Linked DNA regions of Homo sapiens: region 2 is linked to region 1. Evidence: promoter capture Hi-C in human tissues and cell types (Jung and others, 2019). All regions are on one chromosome and are shown on one strand. Each heading gives the region's core, a stretch centred on a gene start or on the middle of the fragment in contact. The rest is flanking DNA. Distances are from core to core; before and after follow the strand shown.

What was found. Contacts are between HindIII fragments. The study calls those that stand out against the background at their distance.
Region 2: a contact is called between a fragment that was not itself captured here and the fragment with the promoter of RPGR in region 1, in 1 of the 25 tissues and cell types used here (IMR-90 fibroblasts).

Annotation. Positions count from the first base shown.
Region 1 is chrX:38,324,791-38,330,197 of GRCh38, reverse strand. It overlaps RPGR (retinitis pigmentosa GTPase regulator), which reads left to right and starts at 2,689. Exons shown (of 15, transcript NM_001034853.2): 1 at 2,689-2,858. The coding sequence starts at 2,831. It also overlaps a transcript of OTC not described here. RefSeq lists a silencer at 2,751-3,000. The HindIII fragment of the contact is 21,321 bases long and covers 1-5,407 here.
Region 2 is chrX:37,669,062-37,674,468 of GRCh38, reverse strand. The region is part of intron 4 of LANCL3 (LanC like family member 3); the gene reads right to left. Among named protein-coding and RNA genes, the nearest start is that of XK, 14 kb to the left of the region's middle. The HindIII fragment of the contact is 7,843 bases long and covers 1-5,407 here.

The sequences.
Region 1 (5,407 bases), core at 1,440-3,939:
ACCTTCATCTTCACAGCCAGCGCTGTTGTATCTCTCTGACCACTCCTGCATCTTCACATCTTTTTGTGACCACAGCCTGGAAAGGCTCTTCACTTTTAAGATTTCATAGGATTTAATTGGGCTTACCTGGTTAATCTAGAATAATTTCTCCATCTCAAGGTCCTGAATCCAGCATCTCACAACTGCAAAGTCCCTTTTGCCATGTAAAGCAATAGACTCACAGATGCCGGAGATGATGGCATTATTGAAAACTAAAGTACAGGGTGGGAGCAGGCCCTAGCACAGGGGCTCAAGAGCCCCTTTACAGAATTTTCTGGGATTTTATTACCCTCTAGAGGTTTCCCACTGGTTACTTGGTGCCATTCCCAAGTAACCATTGGTATATTTCCCATTGGTTACTATGTAAATGAACTAGTGGCCTTGCAACCAATCAGAGGCTGAAGTGTACTTACAAAGGTTACACCCTATTCAAACATCTGATTGGTTGTGGAAAGCAACCAATCAGAGGCTAAAGTGAAGTTACAAAGTTACACTCCCATGCAAATGTCTGATTGGTTGCAAAAAGCAACTAATCAGAGATACTTTCAATTTTCCGTCTGCCACGCAGAAAAAGGGGGTGGGGGTTGCAAAGGGAGTAGCCTCTGGTTCTTTTGTTACTTAGGTATGGAAAGTTGGGGTTTCCTTTTGATTTAGTTCTAGGAAGTCAGCATGAATTGGCCTTAGCTTTCCTGCCTCCCGACCCTATTCTACTGCCTCAATTCTACAGTCACTTTCCAGTGTTGCAAGTATCTCAAGCCTGCTTTCACTATATAGACCCAGTCATTCCTCAAATACGTGCCTCCTTCTGGGGCTTCTGCTCACCAATTACCTGCTCAGCACCTCCAATTTGATGTCTTAGTGTGCTCAAGGATGAACTCATTATGCTCTTCTTGCCCCATTTACCTAACTCCAATGTCGCCAGCTCTTTCCTCAGTGTTCCCCATCTCAGTAAATGGTGCCCCCCTCCTGCTATTTGCTTATGTTGGAAACCTTGGAGTAGGGCTGCATCAATATCTTCTGGGATGCTTAGCACCAAAATGTGCCTTACTGTATTTTGAAATAAAAACAAATGACTGCATATTAAAAAGTAAATCTTTAAAAATTCTCATTTGCCCGTAGTAACAATTATGATACTCTAAAAATGAATATCAAATCCTTTTCAAAATAATTTAGGGCCCTATCTTTGCTGTTGCTCTAAGAACTATTTGGTAGTCCAGCACTGTCTAGGAGTCAATAGTCAGAAACCATTTCCTGTTGATTCTAAGACCTAAAATATTTTCAAATCTGCCTGCTCCTCTCTGGCACCAATGAACTGTACTCCAAGCCATCCTGACCACATGTCTGAAATTCTGCAATAGCCTCTGAACCCTTCTCACTGCTCCAGTTTATTCTCTACAAAGCATCTAGACCAGGCAGAATGATTTCAGGGACACACATAACTGATCCTGTCCTGTTGTTCTACTGCCTAAAACTTCTCAGTGGTTTCACATTGTCTTTAGGATAAAATCTCAGATCCTTAATAGGCCCAAGACCTTGCCACCTCGCTAGGAACCAGCCTCGCCTCTTGGTGTTCCTGGAAAGAGTCAAGCTCCTTACAAACCTTTATACACAATTTACTCTCTGCCAAGAGCTCTCTCCCCCTCCTGGCTTATCTTTCTCCAGTTCTTAGATTTAATGTTCTTTCTTCAGATAAGCCTTTCTTAACCTCCTACACCAGGTCAACGCTTCTTGTTAACCACTTCCTTAGTAACCTCCACTTTGCTTTGTAAGTAAATGATTATTTGTGTAACTAATAGTTTAATGTCCCCTCTTCATGTTAATGCAAACTTCCTGAGAAAGTGTTGGTAACACACAAGAGTAATTCAGGGATCCCTGAATCCAATTGTGTCTGATTCTAGGGCCCATGTCCACAACTACCAAACGTACGTAAATCTGCTCATTCTGGAAGATGGCTTTTTGCTTCTTTATTTCATGATAGCCAAATGTTGATGCATGGGAAACCCTGCATCATATAACATCGCTGAGCAAATTCTAGAGCAATGATGTTGGGCTACCCCTTTGTGTATGTTCTGTGAGTAGTGGACCATATACACCTCAGCTTTTACTTTTGTTGACTACAGGCTGGACTAGCTGGACTAGCTGCCCACATGCTTAAACAGAGGTAACATTAACCACTTTACAGGGTTGTAATAGTACTCATTTGTCCAATAAATACGTAATGAGCATTCAGTATAGGCCAGATGTTGGTTTAGATGCTGGGGATATCTTTAGCAGAGTGCTTACCTCCTTTAATGTTCCAGCTGGTCACTATTACTAGTAGTGTCATAATTGTGTGTCGATGCTTGCTTATGTCACGGAGTATGGGATTTGTGACGTTTGCCACTCATGGGCAGGGTCCCTGCGGCGCCTGGACCTCCAACGGCACAAGGGCGCGGACTCCACAGCATCACTGCGCGGCGTGGCCGCCTCTCTGCTCCAGGCCGCCAGAGGGCGCGTGGTCTCTACTGCCCCTCCGCTGTGCCTGAGCCTGCCCCTTACCAGCCACCCGGCCTCCGTTCCCCTCCCCAACGGCGCCTGTCCCGCCTTGCATTCCCAAGCTCCGCCCCCGTTGCCCGTAGCGGCTGTTTGTTGACTTCCGGGAGCGCGGTTGTAGTTGATCTCCGGAGTTTCGCCATGCGGAACTTGGGGGCTTTCGCGGCCCGCGTCGGTGCGGAGTAGCTGCTTTAGCCCCGACCAAACCGTCCTCTACAGCCTCCTGGCCCCGGCGCAGGCTGCCCGTACTGCCCGTGGCATGAGGGAGCCGGAAGAGCTGATGCCCGGTGAGTTGCGCCCGCGCCGGTGGCGGAAGGCCGGGAGGGAGGGTCCGCGGGCGGCCGGGCCCCGCCTCCGGATCGGCCCTGTAGGGGGACAGGCCCCAGGCTTGGCAGCCGGACTGGGGCGGGATCGCTGGTTGCGCTCCCGCGAATGACTGAGGGCAGAGGACCGGACGGGAAGAACAGGATGGGGGAGAACGGGAAAGAGGGTGCCTGTCTTTCGTATGCTTTTTAAATAAGCTCTTGATGAGCTTCTTGAAGGCAGGGACACTTTTTTTTTTTTTTTATGAGACGGAGTTTCACTCTTGTTGCCCAGGCTGGAGTGCAATGGCGCAATCTCGGCTCACCGCAACCTCCGCATCCCGGGTTCAGGCGATTCTCCTGCCTTAGCCTCCGAGTAGCTGCGATTACAGGCATGCGCCACCACGCCCGGCTAATTTTATATTTTTAGTAGAGACGGGGTTCCTCCATGTTGGTCAGGCTGATCTCGAACTCCCGACCTCAGGTGATCAGCCCACCTCGGCCTCCCAAATTGCTGGGATTACAGTCGTGAGCCACCGCGCCCGGCCAGGGAGGGACACTTTCTGTAAACTCCCCAAAGTGCGGACTCCAGACTTGTGCACTTTGGAGGTCCTGAGCTCCCGGTTATGTATTGAATGCAGTAAAGAGTGAGTGATCAGGGCTGTGGGGTAAAAGGGGATACAGGAAATAAATTGGACAAAGAGGGAGAAGAGGGACCCTTTAGCGAGTGTTTTTTAGCCTTTTTTTTCCTGAGCTCCATAGTTAGAAATACTTTTGACATTGTGACCCGATACTCCATATATACCGTGTAACAGAAATAGATGTCTGGTGAAGCAGTCCTTGTTCTATCCACTTAGATTCCACACACACCTTTTTGATAATGCATTCTTTTAAAATGCTGATCGTGATCCACTGAATTGATTTTCTGGCCCACTAATAGGTCACGACCATTTTGAAAAAACACTGGGTTTGAGCAGAATCATACCTTCACTGAAATATGTATGTTTTCTTCCATGCTCCTGGCCGGAACTGACATTCCTGGCCTGCAGTTCACAATTTAGTGAGACATACAGGAAAGTAAACAAAATGACCATATAAATTGACAGTAGATATTACAGGGCCAGAGCAGAGCCACCAAACCTTGGCTTGGGATGAGGGTATCAGGGAAGCCAGGGGAGCCAAGACAAAACAGTTAAAATGTTAAAGTAATTCATTCTGGGGAAACTCAGAGTCTGTTCTAGATCCTAGTCTCCCAACTCAATTATTAGTTGGAACTGAGATGCCTCACAGTGGTTCTCAAAAAGTTGTCCACAGTGGCTAGTCTCTTGCGTATTAATATTTATTATTAATACTTATATTCGCTATGTTTTCCTTTCTGGTACGAATTAGTTTATGTGTGATCACCCACCTTGGGATTTCCCCAAAAGCTGGACCTGGCCTACTATTTGGTGTATGTGTGTGTTTAAATGGTTATTGGGAAATGGTAGGGGTTTTTAGTCTTTCTTCAAAATGACGCTGTGCCACAACAGTTTGTGAATACTACTCAGATCAGGTAATGACTTGATGTAAGAATGTTAAAATCTCAACATCCCCATGTACTCCTCTCCCAATCTCCTAGGACCGTGGCATTTTGTGATGATGTTTTGGGGGGAAAGATAAACCGTCCTTTCCCATGTACTGTTTCTGGAAAGAGAAAAAGACATCTCTATAACTAACTATAGTGCATGAGTAAGATGAGAATTAGAAACTTCCTGAGTAGCTGTGTTGAGAGGATCTTTTCATTTTATAACTGGATCCCTAAACATTCTGAATTCTCAGAAATCAGGAAAAGCTAAAGTGCTCCTTTGTTGACGACTTGGTAACCTGTCTTTTATATTAACAATGTTGAAAGTTATATTTGACTACAAACTCTCCATTATGATGAATTGGTAAACAAAACATTCAACAGTTACGAATATACATGTGTGTAAGGGGGACCTTTTCTGTGTGAAAAGTAGAACACACAAGGGCTACTTTGTGCTAGGCAATATGGGTAGTGCATACCCTCTGTAACCTTAGAAAATAGTTGGAAAAAAACAACATTTGGGGTAACAAATGGTGAACTCTGTGTTTCAACACAGAAAAGCAGTGACTTTTTTTTTTTTTTTTTTTGAGACGGAGTCACAGTCACACTGTCGCCCAGGCTTGAGTGCAATGATGCTATCTTGGCTCACTGCAACCTCCGCCTCTGGGGTTCATGCAATTGTCCTGCCTCAGCCCCCCGAGTAGCTGGGATTACAGGCGCCCACCACCACGCCCGGCTAATTTTTGCATTTTTAGTCGACACGGGGTTTCACCACGTTGGCCAGGCTGGTCTCGAACTCCTGACCTCAAATGATCCACCTGCCTCGGCCTCCCAAAGTGCTGTGATTACAGGCGTGAGCCACCACTCCCGGCCGACATTTTTAAAGTATAGCTTTTTATTGCTTTGTGATGACCTCATCTTACATATTGTGCTACCTACCAATCTCTCTAATCAAACTGTTACACAAATC
Region 2 (5,407 bases), core at 1,736-4,235, 660 kb after region 1:
ATAATTATATTAAAACACAACAAAAATTTTAAAGCCAAATTTGTGATATAATAACATATGTATTATTTGCTAACACATTAAATTCCAAGGTACAATAGTGGATTTAGTAACTGCTAGCATTTCTGCATATTGTAAAATTAAGATTTTACAATATCTGCAACAAGAGTAATATGACATGAGAATATCTATGAATTCTATTGTTTGCAAAGTCACAGCTACTAATACTTCTGTGACTTACTACCTACATTCAGAAAAGAAGGAAATGTTACATTTAAGTTTGAGACACAATCTCTTTGTCAAGCAAACTCACAAATCCTAGATTAAGAACCCCTGGTATAGTAGAAAGAGCAAGGGCTTTGGAAGTGAGATACACAGATTCCATAATTTCATGTTGTATGACCTTTGGCAAATTTCTCAATTTGACTTTAAAATGGTGAAGTTGCAGAACTGGATAGTGTTATATGTAAAGATAAAGGGTATTATATATCAGGTTCTGAGAATATAGCAAGCATTCAATAAATAGAAAATATTACTTTTTACATAAACATATAATAAAAGAAGATTTATAAAACAAAAAGATGATTTGTAAAATCATAGTATAAAAGAAACCCACAATGTTGCTAGCTCTTCTTCTGACCTTTCCCCCATGCACTCATTTATTTGTTGCATTATTACATGTTATTAAAGTATATATGATTTGGTATCCTGTATTTTTTTCACTTAAAAATATGCTAAATATTTTTCTATGCTTTTCAAAATAATTTCTAAATGATACATAGCAACTTAAAATAGTACCAGCAATGTCTGAGGGTAGCAGTTTCATTGTATTCTGACCTGTATTTTGTGTTATTATTTGTGAAAAATGTTTCAAAAATCTATCCAGTGGTGCAAAATTAAACAAATTTTTTTTTCTAAAACGTTCTCAGTCAAAATAGAAGTCAGCATGCTAATTACAGGACTAAAAAGAATAGAAGACACAATAAAATATGAAAACATTTCATATCAAAACCCATTGATTATGACCAAAACTGAATGCAGAAGAAAATTCATAGATCTGTGAGTTACCATTATTATTAATAAAATGATGGAATGCTTTCTAATTCAGCATGTATAAACTCTAGAACATAACAAAATAAAAGGAAGTAAAAGTGGAAAACAAAAGAGAAAAACAAAAAAAATTAATAAGCAAAACCAGGAGCCAGTTCCTTCAAAGGATTAACAAGACAGAAAAAACACTGGTGCAGCTCACCAGGAAGGAAAAGCATTAGAAATCACAAAGGGCACATAGCCACAGATATAGGAAATTAAAAATATTATGGAACTATATGATTAGAACTCTATGTCAAATATTTGAAAATTCATAAGAACTAGATGGTCTTATAGAAATATGTGCACTACCAAAAAGAAGAGGTAGAAAACCCGAGTGATTGAATAAACATAAAAGAAAATTAAGAAGTTGTCAAATATTTTTATGCAGCCATAAAATCCAACTGTATGTTAAAAAATAATAGGTGACAACCAAGTAATATTCATTTTAGGGAGGTACATATTTTTTAACATGCAATTGTTAAAGTATGCCCCTAGCCAACAGACAAAATGGGCTCCCCATGGCAAACTGAGGTGCTCCAAGTTAAAACAGAACCAGGCAGCTATGGCTGGGTGAGGGAGTGATCATGTACTCTGTGTTCTGAGAAAGACGTTGTAAAAGCATCACAGGACCTTTCTCCAAACCAGTTCCCGTTGTGAGTGCCAAGATATGCCAGCCCTCCACCCGCCATTTGGAAGAAACAGGTGACAAAGACTTCTGGTTTTGAGCTTGGAAAGTAACTAATCAGATCACACCTAAGCCAAACAATCAGAGTCACCTGCCATGGCCAATCAGGGCTCAGCTGCACTGACCAATCGGAACTGAGATTCAATCCTTCATTTGCATAAAAAGACCTGACCCTGGGCAGGCAACTTTGCTATAAAACCCAGCGCTGAAAGGCTGCTTCATTTTACACCGCAGGCCGTGTATCCTCTGTTTGCAAACTGTTCACTGGAATAGTGTCTTTCCTACACATTCCGTTTCAGAGAACTTTTGTTCACACAATGCCCAAACAATACTCAGATATTACCTCCACATTTCCAGTCTTCTACCTGTTAGTGAGAAATGTAAGTTGTCTAAAGAGACCTGGACCCTAAATCTTATAACCAAGACTCTGTAAGCTAGGACTGGCCTGCCAGAAAATACTTAATGGGTACAAAGTTCATTGAGTGATGGATACCCTAAAGCCCTGAATTCACCACTATGTAATCTATCCAAATAACAAAATTAAACTTGAATCCCATACATTTACACAAATTTTAAAAAATTAAAATATTAAAAATTACAAAAAAGAAAATAGAGGGGTTGTTCTGATCCCTTTTAATACGCTTTATAGGGAATAAATGAATTTCATTCATTTCTGATGAAATTTAGCCCAAAGGTGAAATCCCACTAGCCTAGATGATATCCAAAATTACTTTCTTTTTCTATATTTGGGAAACAACAGGTCTGGCTTCCACCTAAAGAGATTAAGAAACCATGAATCAATTATATTAACAGATTTCCTAAACAACAGAGCTTCAAATCAAAGACTTACATAAGTTAGTATTTGCCCTTCAGTGCATTCATGTAAATATCACAAAAAATAATTTATGTTTTCTAAACATTAAATATTAGATAAGTTGACTTGGGAGGGCCTTTCTGAGAAAATGACTTTTGAGTGAAAGTCTGACTGAAATGGGGGAGCTAGGAGATATACGTAGAAAGTGAGCATTACAGGTGGAGGGAACCAAAACTTCCAAGGTCTTGAGGTGGAGTGTACCTGGCATCCTAATGGAATTACAAGGAAGCCACAGTGGTAGACAGAACCAGGAGGAAGAAGAGTAGGGAATGAGATTAGAGAGGTAATGGGAGGCTAGATCATGTAGGACCTTTCATTCGTAGGAAAGACTGGCTTTTACTCTGAATCATATGGGAAGCCGTTGGATTACACTGAACAGAGAAGTGTTATAATCTAACACTTATAATCTAATGTTTATAATGATAAACATTATAAGAAGTGAATATAAAAGACCACGGTAAAACATAGGAGCATTCCTAGTAAAATCAGCATAAAAGCAAGGGTGTTTACTATCCCTCTTATTATTGAACATTGTTATAGGGTTGCATTGTTATAGAGAAGAACCATGTAGTGGAAAAAAAATACCATGCACATGAGAAAGGAAGTAACAGAATCATAGTTATTTGCAGATATGTGTGTATCTATTTAGAAAACCCAATAGAATCAATAAAAAACTAATAGAAACAGTAATGGAGTTCATTAAGGCAGCTATATTATTATGATGTTTATGAAAAGAAAAATACTTATAAGATACAATCTATATTTATATGAAAAATTACATATTAGAATTGATAAACTTCAGTGATGTGTGTTTTAAAAGCTTCCATAAATACCAGTAATAAATGATATGAAAATATAATGAAGGAAAAGAGTCCACTCACAATAAACCTAGAAACATAAAATACCCAGGAATAAAATTAACAAAAAACATACAAGATCTTCTTCATAAGATCAAAACTTTACCAATGACATTTGTTTAAACTTAAATAAATGGAAAGGTATACCATGTTTCTGGATGGAAAAATTCAATATTCTAAAGATGCTGATTCTCATTAAGCAAACTGTAAATTCAATGAAATTCCAATCAAATTTCTGTGAGCTTTTTTAAAAATATGACAAATTGACTCTAAAATACAATTAAAAGAATAAATAAGAGAATGATAGGTGGAATATGGGGAAAATATGGAACTCATATATTTATATAAATTCAGTTTATAAAAAAATGGAATTTCAAATCATGGGGGTAACTGGTCAACAGATGCTATTAGAATTTTTTTTAATAAACAAAAATAAATACCTATCTGAGACCATTTAAAAAGTAATTTCTAGCAGAATCAAAAATTTTAATGTTAAAATCATAAAATTATTACAAGCCCATGTAAATTAATAGTTTTCTAATCCTGAAGTGGGAAGGGTCTTTTTAAGCATAACAGAAAATCTAGAAATTTTAAAGAAAAGATTGAAAACTTTGACAAGAAAAATACTTAAAACTTTGGTATGACAAAGGCTACAAACAAAATTAAAAGAGAAATGGCAAAGCAGGAAGGTATTTACAGCATACATTGACAAAGAGTTACAATTCTGAATAGAAGCATCACAACAGGAAAAAAATGGGCAAAGGATAAAGACAGGCTATTTATAGACCAAGAAATACCTATGGATCTAATGACTTCAATTCTAAAATTTCTGACAAGTGCTTTCACAAGTGCACAGAAATGTATGTATTGGATATTTGGGGAAATTTTGTGTTATTAAAGATTACACAAATGTCAAGTGTCCATTATTTAAGGATTGGTTAATTATCATACATGCATAGTGAATAACTATATAGCCATTTTAAAAAATGAGATAGATTCATACAAAATGAAATAAAGAATGTCCCTTAAAAATTGTTCATTTAAAATTATAAGCTGCAAACATAGCGGGGAGGTGGTGGGCTCACACCTGTAATCCCAGCACTTTGGAAGGCCAAGGCAGGAGGATAGCTTCAGGCCAGGTGTTCAATGCCAGCCTGGGCAACATAGCAAGATCCTGTTTCTGCATACAAAAAATTAATAGTTGTTGTTTTAGTCCATTCTTGCACTGCTATAAAGAAATACCTGAGACTGGGTAATTCACAAAGAAAAGAGGTTTAATTGGCTCATAGTTCTGCAGGCTGTACAGGAATCATAGCAGCTTCTGCTTCTGGGGAGGCCTCAGGAAGCTTCCAATCATGGTAGGAAGTGAAGGAGAAGCAGACACATCTTACATGGCCAGAGCAGGAGCAAGAGGGGAGGGGGAAGTGCTATGCACTTTTAAACAACAAGATCTCTTGAGAACTCTATCACTATACAGTACCAAGAGGGGATGGTGCCAAACCATTCATGAGAACTCTGTCCCCAGGATCCAATCACCTCCTACTTGGCCCCACCTCCAACACTGGGGATTACAATTCGACATGAGATTTGGTAGGGACACAGATCCAAACCATATCAGCCACATATGGTGGCATGAACCTGTAGCCCTAGCTACTCAGGAGGCTGAGCTGTGCCCACGAGTTGCAGGCTACAGTGAGCCATAAATCACACCACTGCACTCCAGCCTGAGTGAGACCCTGTCTCAAATAAATAAATAAATAAATAAAATTATAAGCTACAAACAGTATGTATAGAACTATTATACATATATAGTAGTAGGAGCTCATTAAAATATACATGTACACATATACATTTATGTGAACATACATTTACACATAAAGAAAAGTCTGGAATTATAAAACT